Linked DNA regions of Homo sapiens: region 1 is linked to region 2. Evidence: promoter capture Hi-C in 16 types of primary human blood cells and fetal thymus (Javierre and others, 2016). All regions are on one chromosome and are shown on one strand. Each heading gives the region's core, a stretch centred on a gene start or on the middle of the fragment in contact. The rest is flanking DNA. Distances are from core to core; before and after follow the strand shown. Region 1 has its middle 12 kb from the start of EIF3D. Region 2 holds the start of CSF2RB (colony stimulating factor 2 receptor subunit beta).

The links. Contacts are between HindIII fragments. The CHiCAGO score rates a contact against its expected background, and 5 or more counts as called.
Region 1: a contact is called between a fragment that was not itself captured here and the fragment with the promoter of CSF2RB in region 2, in 1 of 17 cell types (endothelial precursors). The highest score is 5.9, in endothelial precursors.

What each region holds. Positions count from the first base shown.
Region 1 is chr22:36,536,957-36,544,661 of GRCh38, forward strand. It overlaps the pseudogene LOC100500719. Among named protein-coding and RNA genes, the nearest start is that of EIF3D, 12 kb to the left of the region's middle. RefSeq lists a silencer at 7,446-7,705. The HindIII fragment of the contact is 753 bases long and covers 4,268-5,020 here.
Region 2 is chr22:36,908,934-36,915,558 of GRCh38, forward strand. CSF2RB (colony stimulating factor 2 receptor subunit beta) reads left to right here and starts at 4,695. Exons shown (of 14, transcript NM_000395.3): 1 at 4,695-4,744. RefSeq lists an enhancer at 2,528-3,229. The HindIII fragment of the contact is 2,744 bases long and covers 2,600-5,343 here.

The DNA of each region.
Region 1 (7,705 bases), core at 3,394-5,893, 370 kb before region 2:
AGGCAGGCAGCTGAGCAAATCACCTCACTCTTCAATCTCTGTCACACAAACACATGTCATATAAACCCAGCTAGAGAGAGCCAGGGTGGTGCTTAAGCTTCTCACACAGAGGCCACTGAACACAGAAAGGTCTGGTCTATCATCAGGGCCCTACACAGGGTTGCAGCCATCTCGGATGCTGGCAAGGTCTGCACTGGCCAATGTGGTTCATGTAACAGGCATCTACCACCTGCAGCATTTGCCACTGAAACCATGACCTATCTGGGCTAAAATGGCTCATGAAACAATGTTTGTGCATTTGAGAAATGCCTCGAGCATGTACAGCTTCCGCTGCAGGTCCCCCTCGCTCTTGGTGTGGTCGCCATTGATGGCAATGAACAGGCATTCTCCAAACAGGTGAAGGACATACAGGGAGTTGCTGTTTTCCATGGAGAAGCAGGTGTAGGTGTCCGAGAGCTTCTCCAGCATCGTCATGGAGGAGATGATGACCGGGGCTAGGAGGGGGCTGAGCTGGTCCTGTAGGGCAGGGAGCTCTTCTTCCTCATTCTCTGACTGCCCGAACTTCAGCTGGAGACTCTCTTCAAACTCCTCATCCGTCCAGTAGAAGAGGGCCTCTGTGCCCTCAATGGCCACCAAGATGCACTTCATCTTGGTAAGGAGCACAGTGGAGCGTCCAGACAGCCAGAGGTTCAGAAAGGGCTGCAGCAGACAGACTCTGTGACTGCCTCATCGGAGAGCAGCACAACATCCCTGGTCCTGCAAATGCGGATCGCGGCGTGCACAGCACCCCGCCTGCGGGACAGAAATGTTTTCTGAACTGAAAAAGGGGGACTACAGGTGCCTGCCAGGCCCTCCATATACATACATCCCCCTATGTCTGTGTCTAGAAGTGAGATACACCGTTATTTCTGTTTTCTGATTGGCCTTTTTAGTTTTTTGAGACAGAGTCTCCCTCTCTTACCCAGGCTGGAGTGCAGTGGCTCGATCTTGGCTCACTGCAACCTCTGCCTCCGGGGTTCAGGCAATTCTCCTGCCTCAGGCTCCGGAGTAGCTGGAATTACAGGCCTGCACCACCACGCCTGGCTAATTTTTGTATTTTTGGTAGAGACGGGGTTTGGCCATGTTGGCTAGGCTGTTCTCGAACTCCTAAACTCATGTTATCCACCCCCCCTCGGCCTCCCAAAGTGCTGGGATTACAGGTGTGAGCCACCGCAACTGGCCCATTGGCCTTTCTTGTTGTACTGTTCTGTCCCTTCCAGGTAAGACAGGTACATTTTCTAGTAGTAAGCTCCTGTGTCTTAAAAAAGAAAATAACATTCATTGAGTGCTTACTTTATGCCAGGCACTGTGCTATGGGCTTTATATAAATAATTTCCTCTCTGAAAAAAACAAAGACAACAAAAAAAATTACTTCTTTGATTCTTTTCTAAAAGTTCCTTGAAATTGCCATGGACCCTCCCATTCGTGCAGGTGGGGAGAAAGAAGCTCAGAGTCGTTGAGTACTTGGCCCAGTGAGTAAATGGTGGAGCCAGGATTTGTGAACAGTTTTGTGGACTCAGAAGCTTCCATCCCTTACAGGGGTGGTGAAGAAGGCCTTTCCGAGAGGCCCGAGAGGCCCCAAGGCAGAACCATCCAGCCAAGCCCACCCCAAATTCCTGTCCCACAGAAACCAAGAGAGATAATAAAAAGACGGTTGCAGGGTTGTCTCGCCCCTCCTCTGTCTCTTGCCTGCTCTCTCTAAGGAATTCAGAGCCTTCCCATCTTGAATACCAGCGGCAGCTCCAGAATTTCCCCGTGGGACAGGCTTACTGAGAGCCGTCTTGTGAAGGGGGTAGCCCTGGACTTGCCTGGGAGCTGTGTCTGTGTAGCAGGTACTCTGCTTTCAGGAGGATGCAGGTTTTGTTGGGGGAGAGTGTTCCAGGGACTGTGAGGGGACTGAGCCTGCTCCTGAAGCCATCTCCTTTTTATTTAATTTTATTTTTTTGAGACAGAGTCTCGCTGTGTTGCCTAGGCTGGAGTGCAGTGGCAAGATCTTGGCTCACTGCAACCTCCATCTCCCGGTTCAAATGATTCTCCTGCCTCAGCCTCCCGAGTAGCTGGGATTACAGGTGCCCGCCACCATGCCTGGCAAATTGTTGTATTTTTAGTAGAGATGAGGTTTCACCATGTTGGTCAGGCTGGTCTTGAACTCCTGACCTCAGGTGATCCACCTGACTTGGCCTTCGAAAGTGCTGGGATTACAGGCATGAGCCACTGCGCCCGAAGCCATCTCTTGGTAAAATACTGCTGAGCATTCAGACAGAACAGAATTAGGAGAAAGAGAAGGAACCAGCATTGATTTCTTCAACACACTGTGCTAGGTACCTCAGGCATTTCGATTATTCTAGGCTGTGAGTGAAGAGTTGTTGCCAGAATCTAAAGTGTGTTCTGAGAACTTGGCCAAATGTAGGGTGACCATATGACTTACCATTCAAATTTGGGACACTTTGGGGGTGACGAAGGGATTACTATCAATAATTATGCCCTGGGATTGTCTCACTTAAACTGGGAGGTATGGTCACCCTAGGCAGAAGGGAAGTAAAATGGTCCTCTGTTACTGATTATCTGTTGCTGTGTAACCAATCACACCAAAATTTAGTGGTTTAAAACAACAACAGTCTTTTTATTATATCTCTTAGTTTCTGTGGGTCAGGAATTGGGAGAGGGCTTGGCTGGGTGGTTCTGACCTGGGGTCTCTCATGCATTATAGTTTGGTGTGGGTGGAGCTTCTGTTTTTCTCTCTCTCCATTTAGCCTCAGGGTCATTCTGTAGTGAGTCCATGTGGGGAGTTCAGAGCAAGTATTCTGGCGAACAAGCTGGAAGCCATGCTGCCTTCTGTGATCTAGCCTCCGAAGTTATACAGCATCTCTCCCATCCCCGTAACTTGTTGGTTCCAAGTGAGTCACAAGCCTGCCTAGAGTCAAGGGCGAGGGAGGACAGAGACTGAATTTCTTGCTGGGTAAGGCACAAAGTTATGGAACAAGTATGTGGAGTGGGAGGTATTGTCGTGGCCATCTTAGGGGTATGAACTCTGCCATGGATGCAGACTGGCCTTTTCTAAGAGTCATCAGTTTGGTTATCTGCAAACATGACTGAAGAGTGTGGGGTACATCAATGCCAGGCAAAGTTTCTGAAGGAGTCTGGCTCAGAGGGGGAGGCCTGGAATACGATCCTAGTTTACCAAGGGGAACCTGGTCAGTTACCTTGCAACTTTGGAGAAAGAGTGAATGGAAGTGTCCCTCAGTAGGGGACATTTAGGAAGGGGATGGTCACAGAGCCAGGGCTGGCATTGTCCAGGGCACAGGTTCTTGGTTGCGCTGGCTCAAGCATCATCCCCATTCCCCGGGTAAGACTGTCCTCCCAAAACAGAGGTGGCTTCAAGCTGCTCTGTGATAAACACTTTTTTTTTTTTTTTTTTTTGAGATGGAGTCTGGCTGTGTCACCCAGGCTGGAGTGCAGTGGTGCAATCTTGGCTCACTGCAACCTCTGCCTCCCAGGTTCAAGTGATTCTTATGCCTCAGCCTCCCTAGTAGCTGGGATTACAGGTGCCTGCCACCATGCCTGGCTAATTTTTGTATTTTTAGTAGAGATGGGGTTTCACCACGTTGGTCAGGCTGGTCTCGAATTCCTGACCTCATGATCCGCCCGCCTCGGCCTCCCAAAGTGCTGGGATTACAGGCGTGAGCCACCGTGCCTGGCCGATAAATGCTTCTTAATGCTGTTGTTTATTCTGACTCCCTGCCACCAAGCAGTGCTGTGACACCGTGGATCCTCATGGAACTTGTGCTGTAGGGAAGCACGTGCTGGTTAGGCTGATGGAAGTGCTCCATTCTGCTGGTGGGGTATTTACTGTGCTCTCCAATAATAAATGGATCTTCTGCTATGCGTCAGCCTTGTAAGTTTGGTCAAAGGGAGTCTGCCACCGCCTTGTGTGCAGAAAGATCCCGGATATCCTGTGGTGGATTCACCTCATTGGGACCGGTCAGTGTGGCCAACCTCTCTTCCAGAGTGGCAACTTGCGTTTCCTTGCTTATCTTTTAAGAAGCACCATAGGAATCATCACCCCATTTTATAGACGAGAACACTGAGGCTCAGAGAGGAGGAATGTCTTGCCCCAGGTGAGCCAGCTGGTCAGGGTGCATTTGGAATGGAAACCCAGGTGTGGCTGAAACCAAAGCTGGCACTCTCCATGCACAATTCCAAAACCCACAAAGCTCTGAAAATCTAAAGCTTTTTCATGAGATTGGGGCAAGCATTTGATGGCAAACCTGATATGAATTGGATGTGAGGTTATTTATAGTCTTTATTTTGTCCCACTTAGCGTGAATATTTATACATTTTGCTGCAGAAAAATTAAAGGGTTTATGGAATATTGCTCCAGAGCTCACTGGCATGTCACCTGATATGCGGTAGATCCACTCGAAAACCTTTCAGGAATCCAAAGAATTCCAAGTTATAAAGCACATTGAGGCCGGATGTGGTGGCTTCAGACCTGTAATCCCAGCACTTTGGGAGCCCAAGGCGGGCAGCTCACCAGAAGTCAGTAGTTTGAGACCAGCCTGGGTGAAACCTCATCTCTACTAAAATACAAAAATTAGCCAGGCGTGGTGGTGGGTCCCTGTAATCCCAGCTACTGGGGGAGGCTGAGGCATGAGAATCGCTTGAACCCAGGAGGTGGAGGTTACAGTGAGCCAAAATCGGGCCACTGCACTCCAGCCTGGCCGACAGAGTGAAACTGTGTCTCAAAATAAATAAAATATAAAATAAAATACATAAATTGATAAAGCACATTGAGCCGCGAGGATTTCAGATAAGAAATTGTGGAGCTGTGCTACCTGTACCAAACTTTTCTGTCTCGGTTAGGCAGAGATCACTACCCCCATTCTGCAGATGAGGAAGACTGAGGGCAAGGAACATGGTGTCCCAGGTAGGACGGCAGCCATTTTATCATCCTGTTGGAGGCTGTGCCAGCAGGAAAGGAAGCTTTGGAGCCACCAGCCCACCCCAGCCTCCCAAGAACCTTGTTGTCTCAGCAAAATTTCAGAACTAGAAAACCTGGAAAGATTAAAGCCCCAAAGAATGCCACAAGTCCCCCAGGAAGAAAGGGAGGCTTTGCTGTGCGTTCCAGTGGTCGACATTCTAAATCATTTTTTATTTCAGCTGCATGTACACTCACCCATCACAGGACCAGTTCTCAGAATAGAGAGGTACCTGTTGAATCATCCACCCTACTTCCTGCCTCGTGTGGGCATGTCTCCAAGTGCTGAGCCATCCGCTTCGCTGCCGTGGCCTGAGATATATCAGGATTTGCAGGCCTGGCGACAGGAGACAAAATAGATTCCCATTTCCTTCAGAACCATTTAGCTAGTTTAGAGAGTGTTTGACTGTTTCAATGGGATGAGCAATAACCAGGCCTCTCCTTGGCTCCTTCTCTCTGCCCCATATGTTTTCTTCTGTTGGAAGCTGGGATTTGGGGTCTTAGGGCCAAAGATAAATACTGATTTTGGCTCGATCTGGCCGCACAGCTGTGGGCTAGTAGGTGCCCCTCTCTGAACCTCAGGCCCCCACTTTCTGCAGCACAGTGTTGTTCTCATCTCTGTTTTTTTTTTTTTTTTTTTTTTTTGAGATGGAGTCTCTCTCTGTTGCCTAGGCTGGAGTGCAGTGGTGCGATTTCAGCTCACCGCAACCTCCATCTCCTGGGTTCAAGCAATTCTCCCCACCTCAGCCTCCCGAGTAGCTGGGATTGCAGGTGCCTGCCACCAGGCCCAGCGGATTTTTGTGTTTTTTAGTAGAGACAGAGTTTCACCATGTTGGCCAGGCTGGTCTCGAACTCCTGACCTCAGGTGATCCGCCCTCCTCAGCCTCCCAAAATGCTGAGATGACAGGCATGAGCCACCGCATCCGGTCTCTCATCTCTTCATACCACATGCCTTGGTTCCCACTGCCCCGGCGGGTGCCTGGAGAGCCTTGTGGCTGGGGCTGAGTGACCGCAAGGTGATATTTAAGGTGGTCTCATGGAGCAGTCTGACATCACTGTAATGCAAGCAGACATCTGGGGAGTCAGACTGACTGAATTTGAATTCCAGCGATTTAAATTTTTACCACTGTTGTGTGACCTTGGGCAAGTTGTGTGACCATTTGAGCCATAGCTTCTTCATCTGTAAAATAGATGGAATCATAGCATGTACCACTTCGGGAGGGAGGGAGAATAGAATTAGGTCAGATTTTATATGTGACATGCTTAAGGCAGTGCCTGGCATGCAAATAAGCCCTTGATACATGCCAGTGGGGTTACTCTGGTTACCAGAAACTTGGAAGTAGGGGCTTTGGCTGGGGCAAGATCTCGCAACATTTAAAAAGCAATCACTGACCGGGCACCGTGGCTCATGTCTGTAATCCCAGCACTTTGGGAGGCCGAGGCAGGTGGATCACGAGGTCAGAAGATCGAGACCATCCTGGCTAACACGGTGAAACCTCGTCTCTACTAAAAATACAAAAAATTAGCCGGGTGTGGTGGTGGGCGCCTGTAGTCCCAGCTACTCGGGAGGCTGAGGCAGGAGAATGGCATGAACCCGGGAGGCGAAGCTTGCAATGAGCCAAGATCATGCCACTGCACTCCAGCCTGGGTGACAGAGAGAGACTCCGTCTCAAAAAAAAAAAAAATAAATAAATAAAAAGCAATCACTGGTCACTCGTGAGGAACCAGGCCCCGAGTTGGTCACTCAGCGTTCAGGTGGAGACCTTGCCATGCTATCAAGTAACCTAGAGTCTATTTTTTTTTTTAAGATGGAGTTTCACTCTGTCGCCCAGGCTGGAGTGCAATGGCACGATCTTGGCTCACTGCAACCTCTGCCTCCCATGTTCAAACGATTCTCCTGCCTCAGCCTCCCGAATAGCTGGGATTACAGGCACCCGCCACCACACCCGGGTAATTTCTGAGTAGAGACTGGGTTTCACCATGTTGGCCAGGCTGGTCTTGAACTCCTGAGCTCAAGTGATCCACCCGCCTTGGCCTCCCAAAGTGCTGGGATTACAGGTGTGAGCCACTGTGCCCAGTCAAGTAACTCAGAGTCTAATGGGGAAAGTAGATGTGGCTAATCCAGGGGCTGCAATACCTATAAAGTCCTTAATCAAATATATTTTGCGTCTATGTTTAAAAAGCAGATTTCACCTAAAAATCTAGTTTTTTGGCTTCTCTTAAGATCTGGCAACACCGGGCTGGCCTTCCTGCGATACGAGAAGAAGCTGGAGCTGAATAGGAGTTGCCCCCTTGGCCAGGGGCTCTCTACTTTGCCTCAGTCCCCACTACTCCCTATTGCACCAGATTCAAACTTCTTCATAGTCATGCATGTTTGCCGCTGGGGCCTGTGGGAGTTTGCTGATAAGTTGCAGTGCAATGCTGTGGGTGCTGTGAGAGCACGATGAGCAATAATAACTCAGCCTTGGGCAGTCAGGAAAAGCTTCCCAAGGGAGGCGAAGTCACAGCTGCTTCTCTATAAAACCTGCAGATGCTGCTGAACACCCTCATCTTTATGGCTCAAGGACATGAATAAAGGACGCAAAGTCAGAGCTCACGAGGAATCTCTGGCATAAAGCGACTGAGGCCCAGTGACTTATCTCGGGTCACACAGCCTGCTGATGGCAGAAGTGGGGCTAGAACTAGGAT
Region 2 (6,625 bases), core at 3,445-5,944:
TATTAAATACAAAAGGAATGGTGACATTTTATTTATTTATTTATTTAACAATAGCAACTTTTATTTTAGACTCAGGGGGTGTACGTGCCCCTTTGTTATCTCATAATACTTTAGCATTTTAGAATAGTTTTTTCTAATTCTGTGAAAAATGATAATTCATATCCCAAACCACATGGTAAGTGTAGTACCCGGGTAGTTAGTTCTTCAATCCTTGCCTCTCTGCCTCACCCCTCTAAGTAGTTCCCTGTGTCTATTGTTGCCATCTTTATGCCCATTAGCACCCAATGTTTAGCTCCCACTTATAAGTGAAAATATACAGTATTTGGTTTTCTGTTCCTGCATTAATTTGCTTAGGATAATGGCTTCCAGCTGCATCTATGCTGCTGCAAAGGACATATTTCATTCTTTTTATGGCTGTGTAGTATTCCGTGGGTGTATATATACCGCATTTCCTTTATCCAGTCCACTGTTAACGGGCAACCAGGTTGATTCCATGTCTTTGCTATTGTGAATAGTGCCGCAATGAACATACGAGCACAGGTGTCTTTTTGGATATATACTCAGTAATGGGATTGCTGGGTCAAATGGTTGTTCTGCTTTAAGTTTTTTAAGAAATCTCCAAACTGCTTTCCACAATGGCTGAACTAATTTACATTCCTATCAATAGCATATAAGCATTTGCTTTTCTCTGCTGCCTCACCAGCGTCTATTGTTTTATGACTTTTTAATAATAGTCATTCCAACTGATGTGAGATAGCATCTCATTGTGGTTTTGATTTGCATCTCTCTGATGATTAGTGATATTGAGCATTTTTCATATCTGTTGGCTGCTTGTATGTCTTCTTTGGAGAAGTGTCTGTTCATTTCTTTTGCCCACTTTTTATTGGGGTTATTTTATTTTATTTTATTTTTTGCTTGCTGAATTGCCTAAGTTCTGTACAGATTCTGAATATTAGACCCTTGCTGCATGCAGTGTGCGAATATTTTCTCCCATTCTGTAGGTTGTCTGTTTACTCTGTTGATAGTGTCCTTTGCTGTGCAGAAGCTTTTTAGTTTACTTAGGACCCACTTGTCAATTTTTGTTTATATTGCAATTGCTTTTAAGAACTTAGTCATAAATTTTTCCCCAAGAATGATGTCTAGAGTGGTGCTTCCTAGGTTTTCTTCTAGGATTCTTATAATTTGAGGTCCTACATTTAAACTTTTAATCCATCTTGAGTTAATTTTTGTATATGGTGAAAGGTAAGGGTCCAGTTTCATTCTTTTGTGTATGGCTGGCCAGCTATCGTATCACCATTTATTGAATAGGGAGTGCTTCCCCCATTGCTTATTTCTGTCAGCTTTGTTGAAGATCAGATGGCTGCGGGTATTCAGCTTTATTTCTGTGTTCCATTGGTCTATGTGTCTGTTTTTATACCAGTGCTATGCTGCTTCGATTATTGTAGCCTTAGTATAGTTTTAATTTGTGTAATGTGATGCCTCAGGCTTTGTTCTTTTGGCTCAGGATTGTTTTGGCTATTCGAGCTTTTTTTTGGTTCCATATGAATTTTAGAATAGTTTTTTCTAATTCTGTGAAAAATGACAGTGGTAGTTTGACAGGAATAGCATTGAGTTTGTGGAATGCTTTGGGTGTATGGCCATTGTAATGATACTGATTCTTCCAATCCATGAGCATGGAATGTTTTTCCAATTGTTTGTGTCATCTATGATGTCTTTTACCAGTGCTTTGTGGTTCTCCTTGTAGAGATCTTTTATGACCTTGCTTAGCTGCATTCCTAAGTATTTTATTTGTGTGTGTGTGTGTGTGACTATTGCAAATGGGATTGCATTCTTGATTTGGCTCTCAGCTTGAACTTTATTGGTGCACAGAAATACTACTGATTTGTGCACATTGATTTTGTTTCCAACTTTATAGAAGTTGTTCATCAGTTCCCGGGGACTTTTGGTGGAGTCTTTAGGGTTTTCTAGGTATAAAATCATATCATCAAGGAAGAGAGAAAGTTTGACTTCTTCTTTTCCTATTTGGATGTCTTTTATTTCTTTCTCTTGTTAGATTGCTCTGGCTAGGACTTCTGAATGACAGAATTTTTAAAAGTCACCATTTGGCAATGATCATCATGATAATGTTTAATTAAATTAAGGAACATCATTGCATACTGAAATTATACAAGTGTGGGAGTGGGATGAGAAAGCTTAAAAGTATCTCCCTACCAAATGCTTATAAATTACGATGTGGAAGGGGAAGTAACTTTACAATAGAGAAACTTGATTGGTGTCAAGTTAATCAAATGATCAGAGCGAACGACATTAGTGATGGGACAGATTGACAATGAAAGCTAATAGGACTCACCAAGAATAATCCAGCATCACTTCTGTGCTATTTTGGCCAAAAAAGCATAACCCAGTTCTAATCATCAGACAGAGCCAAATCGAGGGACATTATTCAAAACAACCAACCTGCAGTCTTCGAGATGTCGAGGAAAAAACAAGGCATCTGTTTCAAACTGGAGGCCCGAAAGACATGGCAACTAAGAGCCATGCATTTAGAGAGAATGCAAAGTCCCGGATGGATTTTCTTGTTACAAAACCATTATTGAGAAGCTTAGCGAAACTCAAAGGGGGTTTCCACATGAAGGGTATGTGAGAGTTCTTTGTATCATTCCTTTAACGCTCTGTATTTTGAAATAGTTTCAGAATAAAAATGGAAATGGAAAAAAATGCAATGTTAACATATACGAGTTACTACTTTCAACAAGTTATCTTCCTTTTCATGCCTCAATTTCTTCATCTGTAAGGTGAAGACAGTAACAGCTACATAAAGGTTATTGGGAAGAGATGGAGAAGCCCCCAGCCGAAGGTCTGCTCACAGCGTAAATGCTCAAGCCCTGGTCATTATGAGTACTACGTTCTTGCCAACATTTTCTTGGGTTTCTTAGTCTCTAAAAGATCGTCAATTGCAAGACACGGTATTTTACATACCACTGAAGGAAAAAACAAACAAACAAACGAAAACATTCAATGAATTCCTGACGGTGTGATTCTTCTCGCTTAGAACTTTTAATACTTATTGAGAGAACTCTGTTAGACTCATTCAAATGTAGATTTTTATCCCCTGCTGCTCTATGATGACTTTTAAAAGGAAAGGGTCAGTCAAGTGAATTGGCTGAGGTGTTCCTAAAGCTCCTTCACATTTTGGGTCTGGTGTCCGGAGTGATTTTGACTCAGAGTCTCGGGTTCTTCGTTTCTCCACCAGACAGCATCCTCTGTGCTCCTGAGGGCATCCAGGCCCGCAGCCTCCCAGTCCCACAGAGGACCTCAGCAAAGACAGGCAGAGTGGGGACACCTGGGAGAAAAGAGAGCCCGGGACGTCACTTTAATTCCATCCTCTCCAGCCCTGGAGAAGCCCCTGCAGGGTTTTTCCATGCCAGGCAGGGACCTCACACTGACCGGAGTGCCTGAGAGAACCACACATGCCTTCCTCTACCCTGGGCTTTCTCTGCTAGGGTGAGGCCCTGCCAGCTCTTCCTGGCCAACCCTGCCCTTCCTGGTAGGAGGAAAGCAAAGAACAACAATCAGGCCAGAATTCCAGTGGCTTCGAGGCAGGTTCCTGCCCCTCCATTTCCTCCATTCCCCTCATTCTTGCCCTCCATTCCCCTCATTCCTGCCTGCTGCCCTTTCTCCTGGGAGGCAGCCCCATGTAGGAGAAATATGACTGCGTTTTGTTGTGTCTTGGCACTGTGATTCATCTTGTCTTTATTCAAACTTTTCATATTTGGTTCACCGTGAATAGTTTCTGCATCAGTTGGGATTTTTTTAAACCATATTGCATTAAAATATTACTTACAACAATTACTGAATTTTTAAATGCCTGTTTAAATTTTGAGCACGAGAGACTGCCTCACTCACCTGACCTTAATTCTGCTGGCCCTGCTGTGCTCAGGGAGCCACTCATTCATTCATTCATTCATTCATTCATTCATTCATTCATCTATTCATTTGCACACAGTCAAAGGTGCAATTTCTCCTCTGTACCAGGCCATGTGCTAGGTATTTGGGAGGGAAGTGCAAGCCGGACACAAGCCAGCACTGAAGATAGTGTCAGAAGAAAGACAGCCATGAACACACATGACCATATGACACATGGTGGGGTGGGGCGGCAGGGCAAAGAGGACATCGGGGAAATCAACATGCCACCAGCTACCACTTGTAGGGGGTTCTCCTGTGGCCAGCTCTGAGCTAAGGTCTTCCTGCACAGAATCTCACTGGATTCCCTCAACAGTCCTTCCAGGTTTGTAGATGCTTCTGCAAAAGTAACAGACAGATGGATGTCCCGAGGCTTGGGGAAGTAACACGCAGATGATTTGCACAAGGACACGCTTTAAGAAGCAGTGGACTTGGAAGTCCAACACAGATCTGTCTGGCTCTGGGCTCAAACCAGCTATGGTTATTGCAGCCACTTCCACCTGCATCCCCATCAAGCAGTCAGGGAAGGCTGCATGGAGGAGGCCCTGCGTCAGCTGAGGCTTGAAGGAGGCCTAGGAGTTTATAGGAAGGTAAATTGGAGTAGGAGGCTTTCTGGAAGTAAGAAAAGTCACGTGCACTATTAGCAAAGTAGGCCTGGGCCGGCACTGCTTCCTCTTTCTGCTTCTCTGTTTCCTGATGACATCAACATAAATAGGAAACGTGGGAGGCTCACTCTGCCTAGAGGCTCCAGAAGAAGACTGGTCTCTCCCACCACACAGAGGTATGGCCCGGCGTCCAGGAGCAGGGCTGAGGGGTGGGGTCAGAGCAGGGGGGAATGTGGGGAGTCCAGGATGAAAAAGGACAGGGGGAGCCTGGGGGGCGTCCTGTGGGTAGCTGTGCCCTGGGGACTTGGAGGAGTTAGGGCTTGGCCTCTTAGGATGACCTGAGCCCAGACTCCTAGGGCGGCCAGTGGATGGGGAGGCAGCCAGGGGTGCCAAGCTGCTTGGGTGTTGTAGGAGAGCTCTGGGGAGGACTCAGCCTCGCTAGCGGGATCTGGTTGGTCCTGGTGGGAAGGACGCCTAGTGGGGTGAAGAGAGCTCAGGCCTGGGAGTCAGGCACCTATAGTCTGTCTTCGCTTTGTCACTAAGATGCTGGTGGTAGTGAGAGCACCCCCTGTCCACCCTGGGCTTCTGTCTCCTCATCTGTGGAATGGGGAGCATGGATAGTCCCTGACATCTTGGTTTAGAAAGAGAGAGAACGCATGCTCGTGTGTTTGCCCGTGTGTGCATTTGTGTGTGTGCCTGTGTGTGTATGTGCATGTGCGGATGTCTGGGGATGCAGGAGTGCAGAGAGACTAAGAGGCAGAGGGTGAAACCTGGAAGCTTGCTGCGCTGAGGCCCAGAGCTGGGTGCGGTGTGGCTTGAGAAGCTCACTTTGAACTTGAGAAAGAGCCCAGCACTTTGCCCAGAGACATACCAGGCACTATCCAGCAATCTCTCTCTCTCTCTCTCTCTCTCTCAGTCTCTCTCTCTGTCTGTCTGTCTTTTTAGTTATGACACTCTGCCCTGCTGATTTGGGTTGCTGATTTGGGTTGGGGCCCAGGTGTGTGTGTTCTGTACCCAAGTATGCTGGCTGGGTGGGTGGGTATCTGGGGTGCCTGCTTCAGGGTGTGTGCAGGTGTGTGTACTGGCCCTGAGAATGAAAGGGCAGGTGTTTCACTGGGACCTTGTCAGACAGGTGCTAGCGACAAGCTGCATATGTGCAATTTTTAGTCTTCAAAAACCCTGCTGTTATATTTTTGTACAGCCCAATTCTAATTTTTTTCTATCATCTTTCCTGCTTTGTAATCATTTTATAATGAGTAAACATTTCCTATTAGCTTTTGGTCACTCTTTTTTTCATCCAGCAGTTTTATTTATATTGTTCCAGTATACAGATATACCAACACCACAGGATAATTCATGAGTTGTATAAGGAATGTATTTAATGCTAAACAAGCAACTACACAGAAACCTACCTTCATGAAAATTAGAATAATCTAGAATTATGTAGCACAAGAGACAAAGTCCCCAGCAATTTCTTTTCCCTAGTTCCATAGCTTATTCTTTTCACCACATGTATTCTTCCAGAACATTTTCTAAGCATGATACAAGCATATAGTTTTTCTTTTCCTGTTTGTTTTTTGTTTTGTTTTGTTTTGTTTTTGTGACAGAGTTTTACTCTTGTCGCCCAGGCTGGAATGCAGTGGTGCAATCTTGGCTCACTGCAACCTCTGCCTCCCGGGTTCAGGTGATTCTCCTGCCTCAGCCTCCTGAGTAGCCGGGATTACAGGCATGAGCCACCACACGTGGCTAATTTTTGTATTTTTAGTAGAGACAGGGTTTCACCATATTGGCCAGGCTGGTCTCGAACTCCTGACCTCAGATGATCCGCCTGTCTCAGCCTCCCAAAATGCTGGGATTACAGGCTTGAGCCACTGTGCCAGGATGGTAGTTTTTCTTTTTACAGAAATGGGATTATTTTATTTATATATATATATATATATTCCTAATTTTTTCACTTAATATTGTATTTTGGAATATTTCCAAATTTCTACAATAATACATACAGATTTAACTCGTTAAGTAACCCTAAGAAATATGTGGCATTTATTAGGATGGGT